Linked DNA regions of Homo sapiens: region 2 is linked to region 1. The links are contacts of gene promoters, found by promoter capture Hi-C in blood cells and fetal thymus (Javierre and others, 2016). All regions are on one chromosome and are shown on one strand. Each heading gives the region's core, a stretch centred on a gene start or on the middle of the fragment in contact. The rest is flanking DNA. Distances are from core to core; before and after follow the strand shown.

Region 1 (6,097 bases), core at 2,676-5,175:
AAGCTGTGGTTGGAACTGGTTTTCTGTACTCAACTGCTAGATGCTTCTAGACCCAATGTCAGAACATGGAGTAGTAAACCTGTAGGTCTGGAAATAGGCCCCAGTCCTGTGCATGTTCAGATGCTCATCTCCACATTCACTTGGGTTCAGAAACTCACTGGGGGCAAGTCAGAACTGTGGTGAGGGCCCAAACCCTCATCTCTATCCTTGACTCCACTGAGGGGCTCTTCTGTACGAGGTGGGGGATCAGCAAAGCCAACTGCGGGGGTGAGGAAGCTGGCTTCCAGTGAAGATGTGCTGGACACCTGTGGAACAGGAGAAGGCAGGTTTTGAGCAAAAATGTAAAGGTTAAGCACACAGGTTTTGGAGTTAGTTAGGCTTCCTTAGAGTCTCACTTACTGTGAACCAAGTTAACCTGCTCCTGCTTTGATTTCCTTATCTGTTACATAGTAGGACTTCATAGAGATGTGAGGATCAAACAAGAAAGCATTGGTAATGACTGGCACACAGTGGTCAATAAAGGCTGGCCGTTAGCCATACCAGCCACACCGGTATGTGTAGCTGTGGTGTCCCTAGCTGCAGCTGGGCCCTCACCGGAGGTGGGTACTGGTACTCATGGACACTTGCTGGATTGATCTCTGCCAGTGTCTGTACAGCTGCATCTCTTGCATTCACCAGCCGCAGAAAGAGCTCAGCCTGACCTGCCTGGGGAGAGATGAAATGGTATTGCACTTGTACTTTGCTGTATGCCCAATCCCTGCGCACCACACTCACCTGAGGAATCCCATTCAGCTGCCCAAGGCTAAGGCTGGGGTCCAGAGGAAGGGCCCGAAGTGGGAGGCGCCAGCGGCCACTTAGCACCCGCTGATCTTGGTCAAATAGTCCAAGTGAGACCCAAGCCTTTGGCTGTGGTGCCCTAGCCCATGCTAGCCCCTGCCAGACCTGCAGCTCACAGACCAAAGATACTGATGATGAGGGTGGTAGTCTGTAGAATAACCAAAAAGCAGTGTCGGAAGCCAGAGCTACAGTCCCTTTCTAGGACTTAGCCCTTTAGAGCCAGCGGCCTCTGTATACAGATGAGAAAACTTAGCAGAATGGTGGATAAGCCTCAACTGTGGCAGAGTACCAGAGTCATGATCCCCACCTACTGACCTGGGCACAGGCTGCCTGCTGGCAAGGATGGCACAGTTGCCCATGGGCCCGGGAGCAGGAGGTGGGGGCAGGCAAAGGGCTGGGGGCAACGCTGTGGTCCTTCCTGTATCCCGTCCATCGCGTGCCAAGCCAGTCCTTAGTTGCACCCAAATCCAGGAAGCCTCAAGGCCCCGCAGGAAATCATAGAAAATGACCAGGCCAGCCCTGGGGAACACAAGTCTTAGCACAGAAATACCCAACTCCTTTCAACCTCCCTCCTCTCAGGCAGGTCCCTAACCCTATCTGGTCCTAGTGGGCTCCCTTAACCAGCAGTGCTGGCCAAGTCACAGAGGCTGTCGAAGGTGGCACGGGCCTCACCCAGGATCATAGGGTGCAGGGCCCAGCATGTCCGATGTGGGCAGGAGGAAGTGTGAGTCCAGGCCCAGGTTTCTGGTCATTGTTCCAGGAAGCTGTGGCTGTGGGGAAGAGAGCTGACTCCTCCAGAAAGCCTTGTAGCTGCTCATGTTCCCCCAACTGCTCAGAGCAGAGCTGCCTCCAACCTGTTCCCCCAACCCACCCCGTGTCCTCACAGCCTTTGCCCCACCCAAGAACTGAACCTCCGAGAAGCCTGGAAGTGGTGGCAGCGGTGGTGCCACCGGTGGCGGGAGGAGTGGGGGATCTCTCCTCCCCTTCGGTTGTAGGCTGGCATCCCCCAGGAGTCGCAGATCCTGGGGCCCTAGGAGCAGAAGAGTTAGGGTGCCCCTAAGTTGGACAAAGCAGGTAATTAGCTGAGATACCCCTCCCCCAAGAGTTGGGCCCACAAATGGGTTGGCGGAGCCCTGTGGATACAGGGATACACACGTGCAGACATGAACTAGGGGAGTCACAAACACGGGTCTTGTTCCCCATGCACTGTCTGCCTGAGCCAGGCCTGCTGGGGAGAGATAAGTGGGATGGGATAGGGTTGGGGTGCTCACTGACCCAAGGGTGCCCGACCCCTCTGCATTTGCAAGGCCAAGATTTCTGCCTCCAAGCGCCGGTTTTCAGCCTCCACTACTGGAAGCTCCCCTGAGGTGGCACCTGCCCTTCCTGCGATGAACAAGTGTGACCTGTCACCTTTGACCTCTGGTGACTGGCCGCGTCCGGCTGTGAGCAGCTCTCCAGCGCTAAGGCTCTTCGGATAAGGCTGGACTTGTCAGCTCACATGCCATCCACAGCCACAGGCCCTCCCTCGAGTTCTTTTCTCCTCCCAGGACTGACCACCGCTGGCGAGAGGCCCTCCTGTTCACCTCTGCGGGTCTGCGACCGCTGCAGCTCCAGTGCAGACGCCTCCACCTGCAACTGCCATATCTGGCCCAGCACGCCGGGGTCCCGGCCCCCGTCTCGAATGTAGGCCTCCCGCAGCGCCCTAGGGAGTGGGGAACAGGAAGGCCGTCTTTCCAGAACTGCTCAGCGCTTCGCCCTATGCCCATCTCCGGCCCCGGCTCTCACCGGATTTCGGCAGCCAGAGTTCCCGGGTTGGCCTTTTGCACTGGAGAATAAAGTTCTGCCTCTCGCCGGGAGCTCAGCGGGTTCCTGGGGTGGCAGGCGACGCGCAGGGAGACGGTAACGCATCAGAGGCCCCGGGGCTGCAGCCAGCCCGCCCCTCCCACCCCGGAGCCGCATGTTCCGGGGATCCGCTTAGTCGGGTCTCACCCTGGCTCCGCCTGCAGCTCCTGAATGCGGGCCCCCAACACCTCTAGAGCTCCCCGCGTCCTCCCGGCCTCAGCTTGTAGTTCTCGAATCTCCTGCTCCAGGCCGAAGAGGCGGGACATCCCGCCCCGCGTACAGGCCACAACTTGGAGGCGTCGGCTCAGTTCTGAGGGAATGCGGGCCGAGTCAGAACCGGCCCGAGCAAGCTTAAGCCAAACGGCGAGGGCAGAGGAGGTCCTTGGTCCCCGTCCCCCATCTCCTTCACCCTCGCCGCGTAGCTGCAGGGCCCGGCTCTGCGCTTCCATCTCCGCCACGCGCCTCGCGCGAGTCCTGAACAGCGCCCGCAGCCGCTCGCTGGGGCTTCCCACCGCCTCGGACATGGGACTCTGAGGCCGCGCCTCGGAACGTGTCCAGGGCCCCGCGAACACCCTGGGGACCTCTGTTATCCAGGGCCGCATTTCCTGTAGGGATAGCCGCAGCCACTGCACCTGGAGGTAACAGCGATCCGCGATCTCTGCGTGGGCAGAATCTGTCCCAAGTATGATCTACAGGTTTGGGGAAGACGCTCAACGTTTTGAGCCCTGGGGGAAGGTAGGTAGCTCTACCTCCTCTGTTAACCTCTTTAGAGCAGATCTACTGGCCTGCTGGTCTGGGAGGCCCTGGGGTTCTTGTGGCACGCCCTGGTGTTCTTGTGGCACAACCTGGGGATAGGGTGTAGTAGGATGAGGAATCATAAAGGTCCTGGCTCCTTTGAATCCCCACCCATGGCCATGGAGGCCCTTACCGCGGCCCGCTGGGGTTCAGTGGCAACTGATGCCTGTGCTCCAAATGTCATCTCTTGGGTCGGGTGGCCAATGCAGAAGCGCTGAGTATGGGTGGCTAACAGAGCTGAGGAGCGGAAAACCATGTCACAGGTCCCACAGGGCAGGAGCGCAGGCTCCCCAGAGTGGGAGTCCATGGGATGGGACCCGTTTCCTGAAACCAGCCAAGACCTGCAGAAGGGATCAAGGGCAGGGGAAAGGCAGAGGAGGATGAAAGAGACATAAAGCCAGAGGCAGAGAGGAAAGGCCGTGTCTATTAGGTCTGTGAGATCTTCAAGTTTGTTTGGGGAGAGCCTTAGCTCCCTGGACAGCAACCACAGGGCTGGGCAGGTCAGGAGAATGGGTGGGGAAACCTCGGCCGTTTGGGAGGAGCCACTGGCTTGAAAAAGTGTTACAAAGTCTGAACGTGGGCAAGTCTCTAATTGTAGCTTGGTTTCCCTGACTATTAATAAAGAGGAAAAAGCAGCTGCCTCCTAGACTAGGCTGGGCCCTTATCACTTACTACATCATTGGTCATTTAATAGCCTCTAAAAGGCAAGTGTCATCTTTTTCATTGCTGTACTCCCAAGTGGATGTAACAGTTTGTACCATTCTCCAATCCAGAGAACTACCTGGCAAAGGAGGCACTCTGACCTTTCCAGCATTCTGCCTGGAAACCATGTCGCACCAGGGATAGCAGTCTCCCTAACTCCCATTCCCTGATTCCTCATTTTTCAGCTGTAGACGAAGATAATCAGCACAGCCCAAGAAATGAAAGCTGTGGGCGAACAGAATGAATCTATCAGATGAGGGAATCAAGTCCAGAAAAAAACCCCTTCTCTCTCCCAAGATTGGCCAGAAGCCAGAAAGACCCTGAACTGTTGGTGAAATTCTTCACTCCACTCCCACTCCCAAAATATATGGAGGAGCTCTGAGGTGACCGCATATTTCTTAAGAAACCCTCTTTACTTTTTTTTTTTTCTTTTTGAGATGGAGTCTCGCTGTCGCCCAGGCCGAAGTGCAGTGGCGCGATCTCAGCTCACTGCAATGAGCTCTGCCTCCTGGGTTCACGCCATTCTCCTGCCTCAGCCTCCCAAGTAGCTGAGACTACAGGTGCCCACCACCACGCTTGGCTCATTTTTTGTATTTTTTAGTAGAGACGGGGTTTCACCATGTTAGCCAGGATGGTCTTGATCTCCTGACCTCGTGATCTGCCCGCCTTGGCCTCCCAAAGTGCTGGGATTACAGGCGTAAGGCACTGCGCCCGGCCAAGAAACACCCTTTTCTCTTCTTTTTTTGAGACAGTCTCGCTCTGTTGCCCAGGCTACAGTGCAATGGCACGATCTCGGCTCACTGCAAGCTCTGCCTCCCAGGTTGACACCATTCTCCTGCCTCAGCCTCCCCAGTAGCTGGGACTACAGGCACCTGCCACCACACCCGGCTTTTTTTTTTTTTTTTTTTTAGACGGAGTCTCGCTCTTTCGCCCAGGCCGAAGTGCAGTGGCACTATCTGGGCTCACTGCAAGCTCCGCCTTCCGGGTTCAAGCCATTCTCCTGCCTCAGCCTCCCGAGTAGCTGAGACTACAGGTGCCCACCACTGTGCCCGGCTAATTTTTTTTGTATTTTTAGTAGAGATGGGGTTTCACCGTGTCAGCCAGGATGGTCTTGATCTCCTGACCTTGTGATCCGCCCGCCTCGGCGTGCCAAAGTGCTGAGATTACAGGCGTGAGCCACTGCGCCCAGCCTTATGCCTGGCTAATTTTTTGTATTTTTAGTAGAGACGGGGTTTCACAGTGTTAGCCAGGATGGTCTCGATCTCCTGACCTCGTGATTCCCCCGCCTCGGCCTCCCAAAGTGCTGGGATTACAGGTGTGAGCCACCATGCCTGGCCGAAACTCCCTTTTCTAAACAAGACAGGGACTTAAGACATTTCCCTACTCAGTACCTAAAGCCAAGGTATGACCCACCAGCAGCAAGTTACAAAGTGTTCAAAGTATGTCATCTCAGTTCAGCTTAATTCCAACTGACATAAAGAGTACATTTTTAGAAATATGTTCTCAGAAAACAAGTAAATGGCAAAGCCCAAATCAAAACCTCCTTTTCAACAACTAAGTTTGTCCCAATTTTCAATGGTTAAGACTTTTGACTGGTTGACTTTACAATGGTGCAACAGTGATAGGCATTCAGTAGAAATACTACTACCATTTTTTTTTTTTTTCCCTCAAGAGACAGCTTGTAGTTCTCTAATCTCCTGCTCTAGGCCGAAGAGGCGGGAGCAGGACTGTCATCCAGGCTGGATTGTAGTGGTGCCATCATGGCTCACTGTAGCCCTGAACTGCCTTGGAATCAAGCAATCCTCCTGCCTTAGCCTCCCAAGAAGCTGGGACTACAAGTGTGTGCTACCACGTGGACCTGTCTATTTTGTTTCTGTTTTTGAGACAGAGTCTTGCTCTGTTGCCCAGGCTGGAGTGCAAT
Region 2 (6,257 bases), core at 1,645-4,144, 210 kb after region 1:
ACAGTAATTCTTTGTTTAACTTTTTGAAGAACTACCACACTTTTGGTTTGCTACACCATTTTATATTCTTCCCAGAAATATATGAGGGTTCCAGTTTCACTGCATCCTTGCCAGTACTTTTCTGTGTTTTTGATTATAGCCATCATAGTGGGTGTCAAGTGGTGTCTTATTGTGGCTTTGATTAGTATTATATTTTAATAATATTTTAGAACTGTCTGTTGAGGTCACATGGAGTATGCTGTTAAAGGAAATAACAAAACTCCAAGACTTTTCTTAGAACCTAGAACCTTTTCTCATCATTAAAAAGATTCTTATTTTAATTTATATTATTTTAGTTGAAAAGTAATCCCATCATTCTTAATTTATTTTTCCTTAATTTTCACGAGTTCAAAGAGGAAAAACCCATAGACGTTTGTTTTACCTACTTCAGTATTATAAAGAGATTCCAAATTCAGCACTTCCCCTTTCAGTATTACCTTTCTGCTGCTGTAGTTTTGCATTTTCTACTGTGAAAGGTGGAGATATCTATATCTATATGTCAGTTGGCTTTATTGAGGTATAATTTACATAGAATAAAATTCACCCGTTTTAAGTGTTCAGTTTGATGACTTTTGGCAGATGTATACAGTTGTGTCACCACCACCACAATTATGATATAGTTATATAAGAATTATGGTATAGAACAGAACAGCATTCCCCAACCTTTTTGGCACCAGGGACGGGTTTCATGGAAGACAGTTTTTCCACAGATGGGTGGAGGGGGGATGGGAGGTGGTTTCAGGATGAAACTGTTCCACCTCAGATCATCAGGCATTAGCTAGATTCTCATGAGGAGCGTGCAACCTAGATCCCTCGTATGCGCAGTTCACAATAGGGTTCATGCCCCTACGAGAATCTAATGCTGTGCTGCTGATCTGACAGGAGACGGAGTTCAGGCGGTAATGCTCACCCTCATACAGCTCATCTCCTGCCATGTGGCCTGGTCCCTAACAGGCCATGGACCTGGTATAGAATATATAATGCTCACCCTCATACAGCTCATCTCCTGCCATGTGGCCTGGTCCCTAACAGGCCATGGACCTGGTATAGAATATATCTGCCACCCCAAGTTCGCTTGTGTCCCTTTGCTGTCTGTTCTCTCTCCCCAGGCCCAGCCTTTGGCAACTACTGATGTGCTTTTTGTCACTGTGGTTTTGCCTTTTCCAGAATTTCATAGGAATGGAATCATACAGTATATAGTCTTTTGTGTCTTTTTTCACTTAGCATAATCCTCCTGAGATTCATCCATGTTGTTTTGAGTATCAATAGTTTGTTCCTCTTTATTGCTGAAAAGTGTTCCATTGGCATGGGTATATAGACTTTTCCATTCCCTAGTTAATGACCATATGGGTTGTTTCCAGTTTTTGCCTGTTAGAGAGAGAGCTGCTGTGAAAGTTCATATAAGTTTTTTTGTTTTTGTTTTGGTGTGGAATATGCTTTATTTCTCTCGGGTAAATACCTAGGAATGAAACTGGTGGAATGTATATTTACCAGTGTAAATTTATCTTTATAAGAAACTGCCAACCTGTTTTCTAAAGTGGCTATACCATTTTTGCATTTCCACCAGCAGTTGCTCCACATCTTATCAGTACTAGGTATTATCATATATTTTTTTTTGAGATGGAGTTTCACTCTTGTTGCCCAGGCTAAAGTGCCGTGGCACAATCTCGGCTCATTGCAACTTCCACCTCCCGGGTTCAAGCCATTCTCCTCCCTCAGCCTCTCAAGTAGCTGAAATTACAGGCGCACGCCACCACGCCCAGCTGATTTTCGTATTTTTAGTAGAGGTGGGGTTTCGCCGTGTTGGTCAAGCTTGTCTCGAACTCCTGACCTCAGGGGATCCACCCGCCTCAGCCTCCCAAAGTGCTGGGATTACAGGTGTGAGCCACCGCACCCGGCTATCATTTTTTAAATTTTAGCCATACTAGTGGATGTGTGGGAGTTTCTCATTGTGGTTTTAATTTTAATTTGCATTTCTCTAATGACTAATGAGATTGAACATATTTTTATGTGCTTATTTGCCAATTATATATATTCTTTTTTTTTTTTTTTTTTTTTTGAGATGGAGTCTCGGTCTGTTGCCCACGCTGGAGCGCAGTGGCATGATCTTGGCTCACTGCAACCTCCGCCTCCTGGGTTCAAGCACTTCTTTTGCCTTACCCTCCTGAGTAGCTGGGATTACAGGCATGCACCACCATGCCTGGCTAATTTTCTCTGTATTTTTAATAGAGACGGGGTTTTGCCATGTTGGCCAGGCTCTTCTTGAACTCCTGACCTCAGGTGATCCACCCGCCTAGGCTTTCCAAAGTGCTGGGATTACAGGTGTCAGCCAATGCGCCCAGTCAGCTATTTTTATATATATACATTCTATGATCAAATGTCTGTTCAAAACTTTTGTCTATTTAAAAAAAAATTTTTTTTGTCTTATTGAGTTTCAGGAATCTTCGTATATTCTGAATACAAGTTATATATCAAATATATGCCTTCTAAACATATTCTCCCTGTCTGTGACTTACATTTTCATTTTCTTATCAGTTTTACACAAATATTTATATACGAAAAATGTGGAAATCAGTTGTATCCCTCTATACTAACAATGAGTAATTAGAAATCAAAACTTAAAAATCAGGACTGTTTGCAATAGTTTAAAATATGAACTACTTGAAGATAAATTCCAGAAACCATTTTGGAAGACCAGTACATTGAAAACTACAAAACATTACTGAGACAAATTAAAGAAGACCTAAATGAATGGAGAGATACAACATTTTTGTGTATTGGAAGACTCATATCTTTTCTTTTTTTTTTCCTTTGAGACAGGGTCTCACTCTGTCATCCAGGCTGGAGTATAGGGGTGTGATCTTGGCTCACTGCGACCTCCGCCTCCTGGGCTCCAGTGATCCTCCCATGTCAGCCTCCCAAGTGGCTGGGACTACAGGCACCATCACAAATTTTTTTTTTTTTTTTTGAGACGGAGTCTCGCTCTGTTTGCCAGGCTAGAGTGCAATGGCATGGTCTCAGCTCACTGCGACCTCCGCCTCCCGGGTTCAAGTGATTCTGCTGCCTCAGCCTCCCCAGTAGCTGGGATTACAGGTGCCTGCCACCATGCCTGGCTAGTTTTTGGTATTTTTAGTAGGGATGGGGTTTCACCATGTTGGCCAGGCTGGTCTCAAACTCCTGACCTCGTGATCTGCCCGCCTCAGCCTCCCAAAGTGCTGAGATCACAGGCGTGAGCCACCACGCCCAGCAACATCTGGCTGATTTTTGTATTTTTTGTAGAGATGGGGTTTCGCCATGTTGCCCAGGCTGGTCTTGGACTCCTGTACTCAAGCAATCCTCCTGCCCTGGCCTCCCGAAATGCTGGCTTACAGGCATGAACCACCTGGTGCCCAGTCTAGGAAGACTCATATCATGAAGATGTAAATTTTCTCCATTAAGCTATAGATTTAATGCAGTCCCGATCAAAACCCAGGTAGTATTTTTCAGAAAATATCAAGCTGATTTCAAATGTGTATTGAAATGTAAAGGACCTAGAATAACCAAAACAATATTAAAAAGAAGACCAAAGTTAGAGGAATCAAACTTATTTTATGACTTTGTATAAAGGAACAGTAATCGGGTCAGTGTGATTATTGGTATAAGGATAGATATATAGATCACTGGAACCAAATAGACAAATTTGCCAAGGCAATTTAATGGGGGAAAAGGTAGTCTTCATAACAAATGGTGTTGAAACAATTCACACAAAAATATCAACCTCTATACTTACCTCATGCTGTACAAAAATTAACTTGAAGTGGGTAATTGAACAAATGTAAGAGCTTAAATCATAAAATGTGTAGAGGAAAACGAGAAAATTTTTGTGATTTTAGGTGGGGCAAAGGTTTCTTGGAGTAAAAAAAGCTTAACCTATAAAAGGAAAAAAATTGGCTTTTATCAGAAAGAAAAATTTTTGCTCTTCAGTATTTATTTTTAATGGAATGAAGACAAATTGAAGTGTATCTACAAGGGGGTGGAATGATGAGTAAAACTTGTGTTAAAGAGTTATTAACAGATTTTGTTGTCTGTTTGGATTTTAATACATATCACTACCTTCTACCTTTGGAGGTAGAAATCTAGAAGTCATAATGAATGTTCTTTGCATGCAACTCCTGTGGGTTTACCCGTTAATTTATACTTTTTTCATTTCTACTCAAGAAAATATATTTGAATGAAATCATTGTGAATGCCTTCTACTTTACAAAAGTAAATACAAACTCAGGCTGTACACCTGTGTTCCACATCCTACTCCTGCCACTTAGTAATCATATGACCCTCTACAAGTCACTGAACCTCTTTAAGCCTCTGTTTTCTCATCTTTAAAATCAAAATAATATTAAGACTTCGCTCATGCAGTTTTTAGGATGAAATGAGACAATCCATTTAAAATAGCATAGTGCCAGATTTATAGTTAAATTTAGAGGCAGCCAAAAGCTACCTCCCTACATAGTGAACTATAACCTAATTTAATATATAAACTACCTGCAACCTAACCTAAGAGTATACTCTTGTAACAAGTAGCTGAGCCTCAGTCAAGCATAGCAGCCAAGTTTTCAGCCAGTCATATAGGCTGAATATTGCCAAAGCATGTTCAAATAAGGCAAACACCTGAACTGCAGCCCATCAGGCTACTTCTGTATGTCATTTCTGTTTCTCTGGCTATAAATATAGCCTACATGCATTGGGGGATGGAACATTCTGAACTGCATTTGGTACTGGATGCTAACTGGTTCATTAATCTCTATTTTTTTGAGACAGGGACTTGCTTAGTCACCCAGGGTGGAGTGCAGTGACATGGCTCACTGCAGTCTGGACCTCTTGGGCTTGAGTGATGCTTCTGCCTCAGGCTGCTCCCTTCCCCACCTTTCCCGGAAGCTGGGACCACAGTTTTCATTTCCTTATTATTTGTAATGGGGGTTGGGGGTGGGGGCTCCCTGTGCTGCCCAGGCTGGTCTCAAACTTCTGGGCTCAACCAATCCTCCAGTCTCCACCTCTGCCTCCCAGAGTGCTGGAATTACAGGGGTGAGCCACCGCACCTGGCAAATCTGTTTTTTGTTCAATTAAGTCATTAAATTTAACTTGTCTCAGGTTTGTCATTTAACAATATGAACAAAATGTATATATTTTTTTCTTTTTATGCCTCGGTACTTCAAATAGTTATTAGTAGCTGTGATACAGTAAGAAATATTGTGTATATTTCTTACCGTATAAAGAAATATATACATATATATATTTCTTCTGTATATATATATAATTACTGTGATACAGTAAGAAATACATGTATTCCTTATATATGTAGCTGGGACCACAGGTGGATGCCACCATGCCTGGCTAATTTTTTGACTTTTTTGTAGAGACAGGATTTCGCCATGTTGTGCGGGCTAGTCTCTGCTGGGCAAGGTGTCAGAACCCGGCAGTGGAGAGTGGTTGGCTCACTGGTGGTAAAAGAATTTACTGACAGCAGTATAGGTTTAGAAAGGAAAGTTTTATTAGATAGAATGCTGCAGCAGAGTGCAGTACAGTGCTTCATTCAGCAAAAAGGACTGAGTGTGTTGCGGTGGATTTTCCTTAGGGGTATTTATGGACTTTAAAGCAGGACCTTAGGGTAATTTGGACCATATTAGTTATGTAGGTCATGGTAAATTATTACATTTGTAGACTTTGGGTGCCTTGATGTTAGCAAGGGTTGCAAAATAAGTTTTGACATTCATGCATTCTGGAGATGTATAGAAATTCTAGTTACTTATAAATTTTTGGGAAAGAAGCCTGGTACCAGATGCTGGCTTTAGATAATAGAGAAGTCTAATTACTTTTCAATTTTTCAGATAAGGAGTTTTGTCTTCGGATGGTCTGCTTGATTGCCACTAGGTGATCGTTGTATTCTTCTGTGTCGAACTCCCAGGCTCAAGTGATCCACCCGCTTTGGCCTCCCTAAGTACTGGGATTATAGGAATGAGCCACTGTACCTGGCTGTTACTTTTATCTGAAATTGAGAATACAGGAAAAGGAACAGGTTTGGGGGAGAAAATTAATGAGTTTGATTCTCAGATGATGACAGGTAATCTGGTGTACATATCCTTTTAAAAATATTGATATGAAATTTACATAACAAAATCAACCATTTTAAAGTGAACAATTCAGTGGCATTTAGTACTGGCAGATTTGTTTTTCACAATACA

Evidence for each region. The method cuts DNA at HindIII sites, captures the fragments that hold promoters and counts their contacts. A CHiCAGO score of 5 or more calls a contact.
Region 2: a fragment that was not itself captured here is called in contact with the fragment with the promoter of CCDC17 in region 1 in 5 of 17 cell types (megakaryocytes, M0 macrophages, erythroblasts and 2 more); the score reaches 6.8 in megakaryocytes.

Annotation. Positions count from the first base shown.
Region 1 is chr1:45,620,129-45,626,225 of GRCh38, forward strand. It overlaps CCDC17 (coiled-coil domain containing 17), which reads right to left and starts at 3,926. Exons shown (of 13, transcript NM_001114938.3): 1 at 3,608-3,926; 2 at 3,429-3,524; 3 at 3,089-3,311; 4 at 2,827-2,989; 5 at 2,623-2,706; 6 at 2,421-2,539; 7 at 2,113-2,220; 8 at 1,749-1,867; 9 at 1,510-1,607; 10 at 1,153-1,356; 11 at 775-985; 12 at 595-705; 13 at 1-305. The coding sequence starts at 3,781. The coding sequence ends at 147. The HindIII fragment of the contact is 6,664 bases long and covers 3,028-6,097 here.
Region 2 is chr1:45,836,140-45,842,396 of GRCh38, forward strand. The region is part of intron 3 of MAST2 (microtubule associated serine/threonine kinase 2); the gene reads left to right. Among named protein-coding and RNA genes, the nearest start is that of MAST2, 36 kb to the left of the region's middle. RefSeq lists an enhancer at 2,688-3,189. The HindIII fragment of the contact is 2,091 bases long and covers 1,850-3,940 here.